2 separate regions of the Homo sapiens genome follow, and region 2 is linked to region 1. The links are contacts of gene promoters, found by promoter capture Hi-C in human tissues and cell types (Jung and others, 2019). All regions are on one chromosome and are shown on one strand. The core of a region is centred on a gene start or on the middle of the fragment in contact, and the rest is flanking DNA. Distances in the headings are between cores, read along the strand shown.

Region 1 (6,050 bases), core at 3,508-6,007:
CTGGGATTACATGCATGAGCCACTGCACCCAGCCAATCCCTCCTTTTAAAAAATGCTGGGCTCCTTGACTGGGAGGACATCACCCTCTGGTTTTCTTCCTTCTCCCCTCCTGCTTCCTTCAGCACTCACCTGCTCCATCTGACCCCTAAACGCTGAGATTCTCCAAGCTCTACCCTTTGCCTTTTGCTCTTCTCTTTCTGTGTCCTGTCTCTGCGCATCTCATCCACACTCATGTCTTCAACTGCTTGCTGGAAACAGGTGACCCCCATCCCTGTCTTCAGCTAAGACCTCTCTCTCGAACTCCAAAACCACACTTCCCACTGGATCCTGGATACTCAGACAACTCAAACCCAGCGCTTCCCAGATAAAACTCATCTGCCATCCATGTCTTACCTATAGCAGCAAATGAGACCACCAAGCACACCACCCAGGAATCTAGGAGTCATTCTGGCCTCTTGCTCCCACTTCCCTCACCCCTACCAGTCATGACATATTGTAAAGTCAATCTGGCTGTGCAAGGAGAATCACTTGGAAAACTTGCCGAACACAGTTTCCTGGGCCCTATCCACGACTTACAGGATCCAAATCTCCTGGGCTGGGGCCAAGGAATCTGAATTTCTAGAAAGCTCCCCAGGCTGCTGTAATGCCTGACTCAAATCACAGACTAGCCTTAGGGAACCACTGTGGTCTAACCCACTGCCGACATCACCGCTGGTTGCCTAGTTCAGGGCAAAATCCTCCTCCCTGCATCCCTGGTAATATACTTGTCTCCTCTCATTCATTCTCCACGCTGTGGTGGTGGCAACTTTCCAAATATGCAGTAGGACCATGGCTCATCTCTGCTTAAATCCTTCTATGTGGCCACCTGGGAACGCTGCATTCATGACCCTTTGTCCTTAGGAGAGTGCCTTCAGCTCATCTCTTGTCTTACCTCCTACCTTGCTCCCTTCAAGGTATGCACTCCAGCCAGGCCAAAAGATATGTGGTTCCCAAACACATAACCCTGTCCCTGCACGTGTTGTTCTTCTGACTGTACTCCCTCACTCTCACAGCCCCTCTGGATCCACTCCTAAGGTTCAACCCAGGCTGGGCTCAGTACCTGCCCCTCAGGCACTATTAGCCCGTGTGGTGATCACAGAGTTTCTAGGTTATTTCCTCCTGTGTAAACAGTGAACCTTCAAGACAGGACCTGGATCTTGAGTGGTCACTATCCTCAGAGGTGCACCCAGTTCCTGGCTCACAGAGATGGTCAGCAAAGGTTAGCGAATGGAAGGGTAAAAGAAGAGAAGGAGAGAAGACAGGGAGGTCAGAGCATTTCAGGTGGTTCTGCCCATCTGTTTGAAGACCCGGGCCAAGAGCCGGGTCTCTGCCCAGCAGGGGGCCTGCTCTGGATCCACAGAAACACCACGATGGTGGTGGCTTTCTTTGTTTGTTTATTTGTTGGTTTGTTTGTTTCTTTTTGAGACGGAATCTCACTCTGTTGCCCAGGCTGGAGTGCAGTGGTGCGATCTCTGCTCACTACAACCTGGGACTCCTGGGTTCAAGTGATCCTCCTCACTCAGCTTCCTGAGTAGCTGGGACTACAGGGGCGCACCACCATGTTCGACTAATTTTGTATTTTTAGTAGAGATGGGTTTTCACCATGTTGGCCAGGCTGATCTCGAACTCCTGACCTCAGGTGATTCGCCTGCCTCAGCCTCCCTAAGTGCTGGGATTACAGGTGTGAGCCACCGTGCCCAGCCATGGTGGTGGTGTTTTTGTGGCCCTCTTGACTCTGGGGTTTCCCCAGTAGCCAGGAAGGTGATAGCAGCCTGCCCTCCCATTTCCATGTGCCACCTGATGAGATTTGGGTCTTCTGAGAAGTCCTGGCCCCTCCTGTCTGCTCTGGTCACCTCTAAACTTCCATTAACAAGGACAGCAGGCTGGGTGCTCATGCCTGTAATCCTAGCACTTTGGGAGGCTGAGGTGGACAAACTGGTTGAGCTCAGGAGTTCGAGACCATCCTGGGCAACATGGCAAACCCCTGTCTCTACTAAAAATACAAAAATTAGCCAGGCACGGTGGTGCATGCCTGTAATCCCAGCTACTTGGGAGGCTGAGGCAGGAGGATTGCTTGAGCCCGGGAGGCAAGGTTACAGTGACCCAAGATGGCACCAGGGCACTCCAGCACTGGCGACAGAGCCAGACCCTGTCTTAAAAACAAGGAGAGTGGGCTCACAAGGACTCTGGGATCATCTTCCACTCTATGGCTGAACTGGCTGTGCCCTCCTCACTCCTGGACCCTGCTCCCGCCCTTGTTTTGTGCCTGCAGAACGACACCACTGTCCTGTCCCAGTATGGCCAACTTTTGGAGTGGACACCTTCATCTGGCCCCTCTTGCCCCATTCTCTCTCTGACTCCCTCCCTCACCTTCTTCTTTCCCTCTTCCCTCTTTGTCCATCCAATGCCTTTGCTGCAAGAGCTCTCTGTCACCTTTGTGCCTCATCCACGGCCCTCTGACTATCCTCACAAGGTCTCTCTGGGCTGTAAACTAGGATGCTGCTCCAACATTGCTGCCCTCCTCCAGCCTCCTGCCCCAGTCCCTCCCCAGCCCTGCCCTTTAGATGGCTGAAGCCTTCTTAGGGAAGAGTGTTGGATGGGGGCAGAGGCCTGCATTAGCTGGATGGCACTCCTGTTTTGCCCCTTCACTGGAGAGGCACTCAACCCTCTGTGAAGTGGGTTTGATTCTATGGCAGCTCCATCCCTTGCCTCCCACATCCAGGACCTGCTACTTAATTTGCAGATCCCAGTGCAAAATAAAAATTCAGGACTCCTTGTTCAAAAAGTATTATGGGGCCAGGCACGGTGGCTCATGCCTGTAATCCCAGCACTTTGGGAGGCCGAGGAGGGCGGATCACGAGGTCAGGAGATCGAGACTATCCTGGCTAACACAGTGAAACCCTGTCTCTACTAAAAATACAAAAAATTAGCTGGGCATAGTAGCACACACCTGTAGTCCCAGCTACTTGGGAGGCTGAGCCAGGAGAATCATTTAAACCCAGGAGGCAGAGGTTGCAGTGAGCCAAGATTGCGCCACTGCACTCCAGCTCGGGCAACAGAGCGAGACTCTGTCTCAAAACAAACAAACAAACAAAAAGTATTCTGACGTTCAAGCTGGCAATAGCAGAGCATTCCTGCTTTTCCATTTTCCAATCTAACTATCAGGCCCTTCTAAGTGCATGGCCCTGTGTGACTGCACAGACGGCACGTCCAGAATGCCGGCCCTGCCCATGCCCCTTTCCAGCTGGTGATGGCCCCACTCCCCTCTCCTGTCCTCAGCTGCTTTCTTAGACAGATCCTCGGAGCCTCCTGGCAGCAACCCAGCCCCAGCCACCTCCAGAAGTTTCCAGGGCCCTGTTCAGTAGGCACTCAGCACAGATTCCCCAAGGTCCTGGGGGAATCTTCACCCCAGGCCACCACTCACATCCTCCTCAAATCAATGCACAGTTATCGAGCCCCACCTGGCTAAGCCTTAGGAAGGGAGGACAAGTGGATAAACGATCACTGCCCTCCAGGAGTTCAGTTTATAGCAGAGCGAAGACTTGAACAAGAGCAGGACCGGACAAGAATCCTGTCAATTCAGAGAAAAATAATCACAGTTTATTAGGAAACTGAATTTCACAAAAGAGAGAGCATAAAGATGGGCTTTCGTGAATGGGCAAGATTTGATTAACCCGATGAGGAAAGGGGCATTCAAGGAAGAAGCCATGGCATGGGCAAAAACTTAGAGATAATAAAATGCATGGCACGTTCTAGAATCCTGAATTGTACAGTTTGGCTGAGGTGTGCAGATGGTAAAATAGTGGGAAAAAGCTGGAAGGAAAATGTACAGAGAAGAGCTACAAGGGTAATAGTGAAGTGTTTGTACTCCCTTAGTGGAAACACCGAGGGGACTTTAGGTCGTGATGTTTAGGTTATTTGGGAGCAAAGGGAGAAGACTTCCTCCCCTTGGCCCTCACAGCCTGCCCGAAGAGTGCAAAGCCTCACGCTTTTGCAAAACAGGCCGCACCTAGCCCAGATTCTGGAGCTGATTCAGTCCATGCCTCTCGACCCACAGTTTGTCCTGAGCCCTGACAAAGGTCTGGCCCCCTCCTGCACTCGGAACGCGGAGGACCCGCAGCTCGTGGATTCGCGCCTCAGTGCCCAAGCTGGTGTTGATGGGGGTTGCGGTTTCCTGCCACTCACTCCCCATGGGTCCTGTGGGGGGCGTGGGGATGCGGGGAGAGGGTTTCAGAATAGGATCCCGGACTGGGAGGGAAGGGACACCATCTGGGCACACCCAGTAGGTACGACCGGAGGTGAAAAAAGAGTGGGTCCCATCCCCTGATGGCCCCGCTCGCTATCCACTTTAAGTTTATGTTATGGATATTTTCAAACATATTCAAAAGTAGAGAGAAAAGTAGAATCATAACCCAAGTCCACACCGCCCAGCTTCAACAGTTATCCCCTCCAAGCCCATCTTGTTTCAGCTAACCCTCTCCCACCACCCATTTTAAAGCGGGATGTGGGTGTCCTGAGGGAGGTGGAGGCTCCCCAGTTGGAGAGCGGGTGCCCGCACCTCTGGAGGCTGAGGCACAACTGGGCTGGGAGTTGAGCGCATACCGAGTAGGGGCTGCGGGGGAGCGGGGGCAGGGCCGGCGGGGCGGGGCCAGAAGCCCGGCGGGGTTGGGGGCGCTCTCCTAGTGACTCAAGGCGCGCAGCGCTGGGCGCAAAGCGCCAGTCTCCGCCTTGCGAGCTCAGAGTGTGCCCGCTGCGCCGCCGCTGTCCGTACCTGCCGCCGCCGCCACCGCCACCATGCCCAACTTCGCCGGCACCTGGAAGATGCGCAGCAGCGAGAATTTCGACGAGCTGCTCAAGGCACTGGGTAAGCTGGTGCAGAGGGCGCGCCCCGACGGGGAGATGCGGCCCGGAGGTGCCCTGGTCCCGGAAGTGCCCCGGTCCTGGAGGGGGTGGAAGTTGGGGAGCCCAGGCAGGAGGGAGTCCCCGGGGCAATAGATCGCCTTGTCTCCCAGGCGCACCGGGTCTCGGAGAAGCTGGTAGAGATCCCGGAACCCACGCGTTCAGCGAACGTTTGCTGAATGTTTGGCGCCCTCCTCGATGGTGCGGACTTTATCTCGTGCTAGATCATAGCGAGGAGAGATTACTGGAGAGCAAGGAGGATCAGGGACTTAAATTTGGAGACTCAAATTTGGGACCAGGCTCTGCCACGAATTCACTGTGCAACTCGAGGAAAGTCACTTACCCTCTCTGTGCCTCAGTCTCTCATCTCGAAAACAAGGGCGAGGGCAGGGAAACGAGTGGATCAATTTTAAGGCCCCTTTCTAAAGTTAGGGTATGACCAGTGCCCGACCGGTCCCGAGACTGGCGGCGAGGCCCCGTGACCCAAGCCTGTGGTGCACCCTGCGCAGGTGTGAACGCCATGCTGAGGAAAGTGGCCGTAGCGGCTGCGTCCAAGCCGCACGTGGAGATCCGCCAGGACGGGGATCAGTTCTACATCAAGACATCCACCACGGTGCGCACCACTGAGATCAACTTCAAGGTCGGAGAAGGCTTTGAGGAGGAGACCGTGGACGGACGCAAGTGCAGGGTGAGGCCCCAGAGCCACTACAGCGTCCCCGTGTCCCCGCTCGGTGCCCATGGCCCACTGCTGCTGGAGGAACCTGTGTCTCCCTTTGCAGCCTGTGGCGCGCCTTCCTTGCAGGGTGTGTACACTGGCTGTTTGCAGAGGGGGTTTGTGCATCCTAGTTGCCCCTGGCTCAAGACAAAGTATTACCTTCATTCCATCTCAACCCCATCCCTACGCTGCCTCCCGGGGTGCTAACAGCCGCGCTTAAAGAGCGGGCTCTGGGTTGCGCCGCGTTCCCAGCAGTGGCTTTTGCAGCGGTTTGCAGCGCCAAGCGCAGGCGGCGCAGGAGGAGGAGGAGGTTGCAGGAGCCGCCAGGTTCTCTGTCGCAGGTGAAGCCGCAGCTCTTGCATTCCTTTCCCGCCGTATCCCCCGCGCCCGCCCGGGT
Region 2 (6,195 bases), core at 3,666-6,165, 50 kb before region 1:
AATGGTCAAACAACCCCGACTATCTAAAGATGAAATAATAATGCCATACCTGATCCTGGTGATCAAAGAAGGTGTGAACACAAGTCCTCGTTCCAACATCCCAAACTTTTACACTTTTGTCAGACGAACTATTTTAAAAAGTGAACATTAGTATCGGTTTGAAGTTGGAAGGACTTCGACCAAAAATCCTTTGATGACTTACATTCTTCTAACTTCAGACCCCCCAACCCCATGCCTCGGTACAGGAAATGGCCAGGTATCAGCATCATTGGGTGGCTTTCTCTCCTCACAGGGTAGCCATTTTCCTGAAATTGTGATCTGCCTGGCCCTCATATTAATTGTTCTCCAGGAGTCTCAGACACAGCTACCTATTTCCAGATGGGAGGGAGGCCTGTTAAAGCTTCAAAACCAAGGCTCGCAGGAGGCCTCTAAAGCACTGTGCAATGCCTTCAAGTTGTCCATCTCCTGCTTTCCAACTGTCTTGGCCATCCCAGGCCTGACCAACACTGGGATCTATAAACAACATTTTACAAACATTTACATATTTTAAGTTACCATTGGAACACAAGTCTACCTTAGAGTCACTTTGGTAGAAGCCTCAATTTATAATGAAAAAACTAAGAGTTTTACTGTTTAAAAGGATTACTTGTTGACTTTTGTTCCAGCTAAGGTCAACTAACATCACTAAATAAAAATTTTAAGAACTGCAGAAAAGAAAGGCTAACTGAATAAAAAAGGGTCAAACATCTTTAAATGTTAAGGCAATCTATACAAGAAGACTGCTCTCATCTCCCCAGCATTTTAGAAACTGCTAAGAATCATTAAGTACCTGGAAACAAAGTGAGTGTCATCAGGACAGAATGCAACGTTCAGCACCCAGGAGGCATGGCCGCTCAGCGTGCCAGCCAAATTGGCATGTTGTCTGAAATGGGAAAGTTTCAAACAAAATTGAGATGTTAATTTCTACAGTATAATCACTGAAGTGGAAAGTATATTATTAACTCTGCCAATAAGCTGGACCAAATCTGCTATCCTTATAATGACCATGAATACTATATCAAAAATTCCTCTTTCAATGAAGTAGCTTCATGCATTAGAGACAAATTTTAATAGTAGCATTAACCCATAATGTGTTGACACCACCAAAAGCCAAGAATAAAATCCTTCACAAGCAAAGAGCTGAAGCTCAAAATGAACAAAGAACCACACTACAGAGGCTTCGCAAGCCAACCCCTCAGATGAGGAAATTGAGAACCAACGGGGCAAGGAAGCCATCTGAGGAGAAGGGCAGGTTCAGACTCCTGCCTGCACCAGCAGCCTTTCCGTATGGGGCCAGTGCTCCCAGTCCAAGGAAAGTGTCAAGATGTATTCATTATGACAGATGCAGCTTGGAGAGACCAGTTTAAACCTAATCAAGAACAAGACAGGTCTAATTACAACAGCTATTTTCACTTTTTTAATAAAAATGAAACCCAACCACCTCTGGCAGGAGAACCACCATAAGACCTAACTGAGGTCAGCAATTTTACCCCTAAACACAGACCTCAGCAGAGTGGAGCAGACCTCAGTTAGGGGCTAGGGGGCAGGTGGGATACAGTGGGACCATGGGAGGGTAAAAAGTCCTGGGCCTTAGTAAAAAGATCAGTAGTTGATAGGGGCTCAAGGCAGGAGGAAGGGATGATTTGGTAGAGCAGGGGATTTTTAGGGCAGTGAAACTATTCTGCGTGACACTGTAGTTAGGGGTGGCTACACATAATTTTGTCAAAACTCATAGAATGTACAACACAAAGAGTAAACCCTAATGTAAACTACAGACTTTAATTAATAATAATGCATCAATATTGGGTGAAAAAAACATTCTTGGGTCTTCATTCAGTACCACCTCCTTGGGCAAATCAACCACCTCAGCTTGGGTTTCTCATGTGCAAAATGGGGACACTAATCTGTGCTGCTACCTCATTGGTTGCTGGGAGGATCAATAAAACAGTGGCAATAGAAATCATAAAGTCACAAATGTAAGGAACTGCTGCATTTATACTGCCTCTGCCACTAACAGGCAAGTATAACTCTATAGAGACATCTTCCCCTCTGGGCTACAGCACCCTCACTCAGTTACAGTTAAAAACTGCAGTTAGAATTCTATGTCTAGCTGATAACCTTTTGCCAGAAAAAACTGCATTTTAACCAGAAGTGGGCTAGAAGGAGCAGTGTTTCTACTGTGAGGTTTAAACTCCCAAGCAACTATCACAGGCCCCTGAAAGGACACACATGGATGGTCAGGGTTGCAGTACATGCAGGTGGAGGAGGTCTTGGCACCCATGGCTAAGGTTGGAGTGTGATATGTACATGCAGTGGATTAGAATGCCATGTTCGGGAGCAATGAGCCAGAGGCATGCCTGGCAGTGAGAGCTGACCATAGCACCGAGTCATAGTATCAAGAACACAGATCCAACACATTACAGGGGATACCTCAGTGGGGAATAGGAGTCAGGACTAAAAATGATGGGGGAAAAGAAGAAGACATAGGGGTCCGCACAGATTTACAATGACGGCTGTGAATGAAAGAGGATGATTAACTTGCTTCTATACTCGCAGTCAAGGGCCAAAACCAAAAACGCTCCCATCTAGGCCTGTAGCAGGGCGGCTTATAAACTGACTGCTCCCTAACTAGGGCAGAGGCATGTCTGCTAGAACAGCCCTACCCTTGAAAATGGATGCTCTAATTTCTTCCTGTCCCCAGGGGCCAGCTACAGCCCATGGCTCCATTTCCTCATCTGTATATTACTTACCTATCCCAAAGAATTTGAAATCAGTAAGCTCACAAAAATCAGGCTGCCTGAGAAAAAGTAGCAAGTATCTGATCCTACCAGGGAACCCATGCACATCCTCCTCCAAGCAGCCCTTGAGGACACACACTAAAAATGGGCGCTGAACGGGGGAGGACCGCCTGGGGAGTCAAGGTGTCTGATGTGACTTGAGCACAGGTCTTTACTAGGGCTCCTCCCTAGGGCTCCTTGTAACAATAAAGGGACAAGATGGGCATCAGTAGTAAGGGAGATGCCTTTAAGGTAACTTACACATCATAGATCTTGATGTAGCCATCATCTGAAGCAGTGACAAGGAGCTGGGAGTCCGGGGAAAAGGTCAAGGAGCGAATGGGCATGGCATGGCCTGAAATTCATAAAGGCCCTTGTTAATCTGGTGAACCACTGCCTCCTCACTCAGCTTCCCACTGACAATGCCCCTTTTAATGATTATGAGCCACTGAGTTGAAATGCTCAGGTGCTTCAGGCAGAAAAGCAAGAGTTCTGATTGGGCCTTTCCTCTTAATGTTCTCAAAACATCCACATAACCCCAGTATCTCCTCCCAGAGCCATTTCTCCTTAGTTCCCTTCCCTGCCCTCAGCATACATTGCTTTAAATAACTTTTCTACTACAAATATGGCCACACAAGGATATATACATTGCTCCTGATTTGTAAGGTTGAACAAATTAAGGTATTATTTCCCTATCAAATCCTTTATTATAGTATAAAGGATAAACTATAGCAATGTGAGGACGTAATAAATTCACTTGATTAGAATTCAAAACAGCACAACAGTACGCATAATAAAGTCTCCCTCCAACCTACCCCTGTTCTTTAGCTACCCAGTCCTCCTTTCCAGAGGCCACCGGTGTGGACAGTGGGCACAATACTTTCATCCACCTTCAAATTATCAACAAAAAGTTGTTTCCAATCACAAAGTTCATCAGAATCCAAAATAACAGAAATGAGACATTCATATAGCAAATATATATTAACACACACATACATAATGTGATAGATTACGATATAATAAATAAAAAGTAAGTCTGTTCACCCAAACAAGCACTTAACACTGTTACAAGAACTAGTATGTCTAGGTTAAATCTATAGTGACAGGCCAGGTATGGTGGCTCATGTCTGTAATCCCAGCACTTTGGGAGGCCAAAGCAGGAAGAAATCTTGAAGCCAGGAGTTAGAGACCAGTCTGGGAAACAGCAAGACCCCATCTCCTCAAAAATTTTAAAAACTAGCCAGACATCGTGGTGTGCACCTGTAGTCCCAGCTACCCAGGAGGCTGAGGTGGGACGATCCCTTGAGCCCAGGAGTTCAAGGTTACAGTGAGCTATGATCACACCACTGCACTCCAGCCTGGGAGCGAGACCCTGTCTCTAAAAGAAAACAAACAAACAAACAAAAAAACAAAAAAACAAAAAAAACTATAGTGACAAGACTAAAACCTGGAGGCATTTCAGTTTTCCAATTGAGATTGATATTTTGTAAATCTAATGCCCATTTGCCATTTAATGGCATTTCAATGAAAGAATAATTCTTCCTTTGTGATTTGATAACCCAGTTTGTCAAAATAAGATGATGATATATACCTTCCAGGGTATGCAGAAGTTTTCCAGTTGCAATATCAAAAATATTGATGATTCCATCTATGGCTCCACTGGCTAGGTATTTCCCATCAGGACTCTGTTCAGAGAACATATGGAGAAATTAGCACTTTCAGACTCCGTGTTGTTAAGCTGTCCCTACCAAACACAAGCAAACCTCCTGCTATCTACAGGTCTAACTGGCTACTTGGCAAACCACACCAGTGAGACAGCAGCTGCCTGACCAGACCAAGACAGAATCTGTGGCAAGGACTGCAACAGGCTGGAAGGGTAAACTGAAAGAATCAGAAGGAGAACAGAGAGCAATGTTTCCTTACATATGCAATACTAAGAATGAATTTTCCTCTCGTGTCCAAAGAATATTCCTTTTTCCCACTTTCCACACCAAAAATGTTCACTTTCCCGACATGAGTTCCTGTGGCCAGATACTGGGAATCAGGAGAAAAGGCCAAAGTCCAGGCATCCACTGAACAGAAAAAAGAAGGACAAAAATACAGTGTGAAAAGACTTGGCCTTAATTTTAAAAACTAAAGTTTTACCAAAGGATACATCTTTTTAAATCGGAGTAGCAGTGTCCTGATTCAGAAAATTATGTTGTAAAGATGCTAATTCTTTATCAAGTTTAAATTTAGTTTAAGGGTTTCTTAAATTTTTAATTAAAATAGGACAATATCAAGTGTTAGCAAGGATGTGGAGAAACCAGAGCCTTCATACACTGGTGGGAATGTAAAACGGCACAGCCACTTTGAAAACCAGTTTGACAGTTTCTTAAGTGAAAACAAACACTTACCATGATACTCAGCAATTCTACTCCTAATGAAAACATATGTCCACACAAAGACTGGTACACTCATGGTCTTCGCTTCCTCCTACTTCCTTACTTCTCCACGACTGGGGATTGTCTCTCTTCTCTTTTTCTCTTCCTGTGTGGTGGTTCAGATTCTCCATGCATATTTTCAAGATAGGTAGAAACTAAGTGTCTATTTTCCCTACATTCATTAGACCCAAATTCATCCAAGGAGTTTTACCTTCAGATGAATTTAGCTGCTCTTTAGCTGTCAATAGCAATGCTTGCTTTTGTTACTGGACCAAATAACTGTTGGCTGTTTAATGGCCTGGTCTAGTTTTATGCAGAGTCCTATCCAAAAAGAAAATAAATCCAACTCTCAGACCCCATTCTTCCTTTTTTTTTTTGAGATTGAGTCTTGCTCTGTCACCTAGGCTGGAGTACGGTGGCATAATCTCGAGTTCAAGCTATTCTCTTGCCTCAGCTTCCTGAGTAGCTGGGACTACAGGTGCACACAACCATGTCCAGCTAATTTTTTGTATTTTTTAGTAGAGACAGGGTTTCACCATATTGGTCAGGCTGATCTTGAATTCCTGACCTCAAGTAATCCACCCGCCTCAGCCCCACAAAGTGTTGGGATTACAGGTGTGAGCCACCACACCTGGCCTCTTCTTTTTCTTTCATAACAGTAACCTTTAAAACTTTGCCACACTTGGAGAATATCCAGTAAAAGGTACTGTTTATCAGAGAAAGTGAGCTAGATACATACGCCATCCTTTTACTTGGAACCAATCCAGCACTGATTTCTTCAGCTGCCTTGTGCCCAGGGCTACAACCAGCATGGAATAACACCAGCATTATGAGCCCAGGGAAAGCTTAGGCGCCCAAGATGAAAAGGTAGAAACAGTTCTGTCTCTTCCTCTTTTCTTAAGACCATGCTTATATATTGGAGTCTTAATAGACTTTGCAGGATAGTTTGGGGACCC

What was found. Contacts are between HindIII fragments. The study calls those that stand out against the background at their distance.
Region 2: a fragment that was not itself captured here is called in contact with the fragment with the promoter of CRABP1 in region 1 in 1 of the 25 tissues and cell types used here (adrenal gland).

Annotation. Positions count from the first base shown.
Region 1 is chr15:78,335,596-78,341,645 of GRCh38, forward strand. It overlaps CRABP1 (cellular retinoic acid binding protein 1), which reads left to right and starts at 4,758. Exons shown (of 4, transcript NM_004378.3): 1 at 4,758-4,903; 2 at 5,448-5,626. The coding sequence starts at 4,834. RefSeq lists an enhancer at 4,308-4,936. The HindIII fragment of the contact is 13,960 bases long and covers 1-6,050 here.
Region 2 is chr15:78,285,212-78,291,406 of GRCh38, forward strand. It overlaps SKIC8 (SKI8 subunit of superkiller complex), which reads right to left. Exons shown (of 11, transcript NM_025234.3): 6 at 4,740-4,888; 7 at 4,408-4,501; 8 at 3,078-3,171; 9 at 830-922; 10 at 50-128. Among named protein-coding and RNA genes, the nearest start is that of SKIC8, 11 kb to the right of the region's middle. RefSeq lists a silencer at 2,913-3,157. The HindIII fragment of the contact is 3,347 bases long and covers 3,243-6,195 here.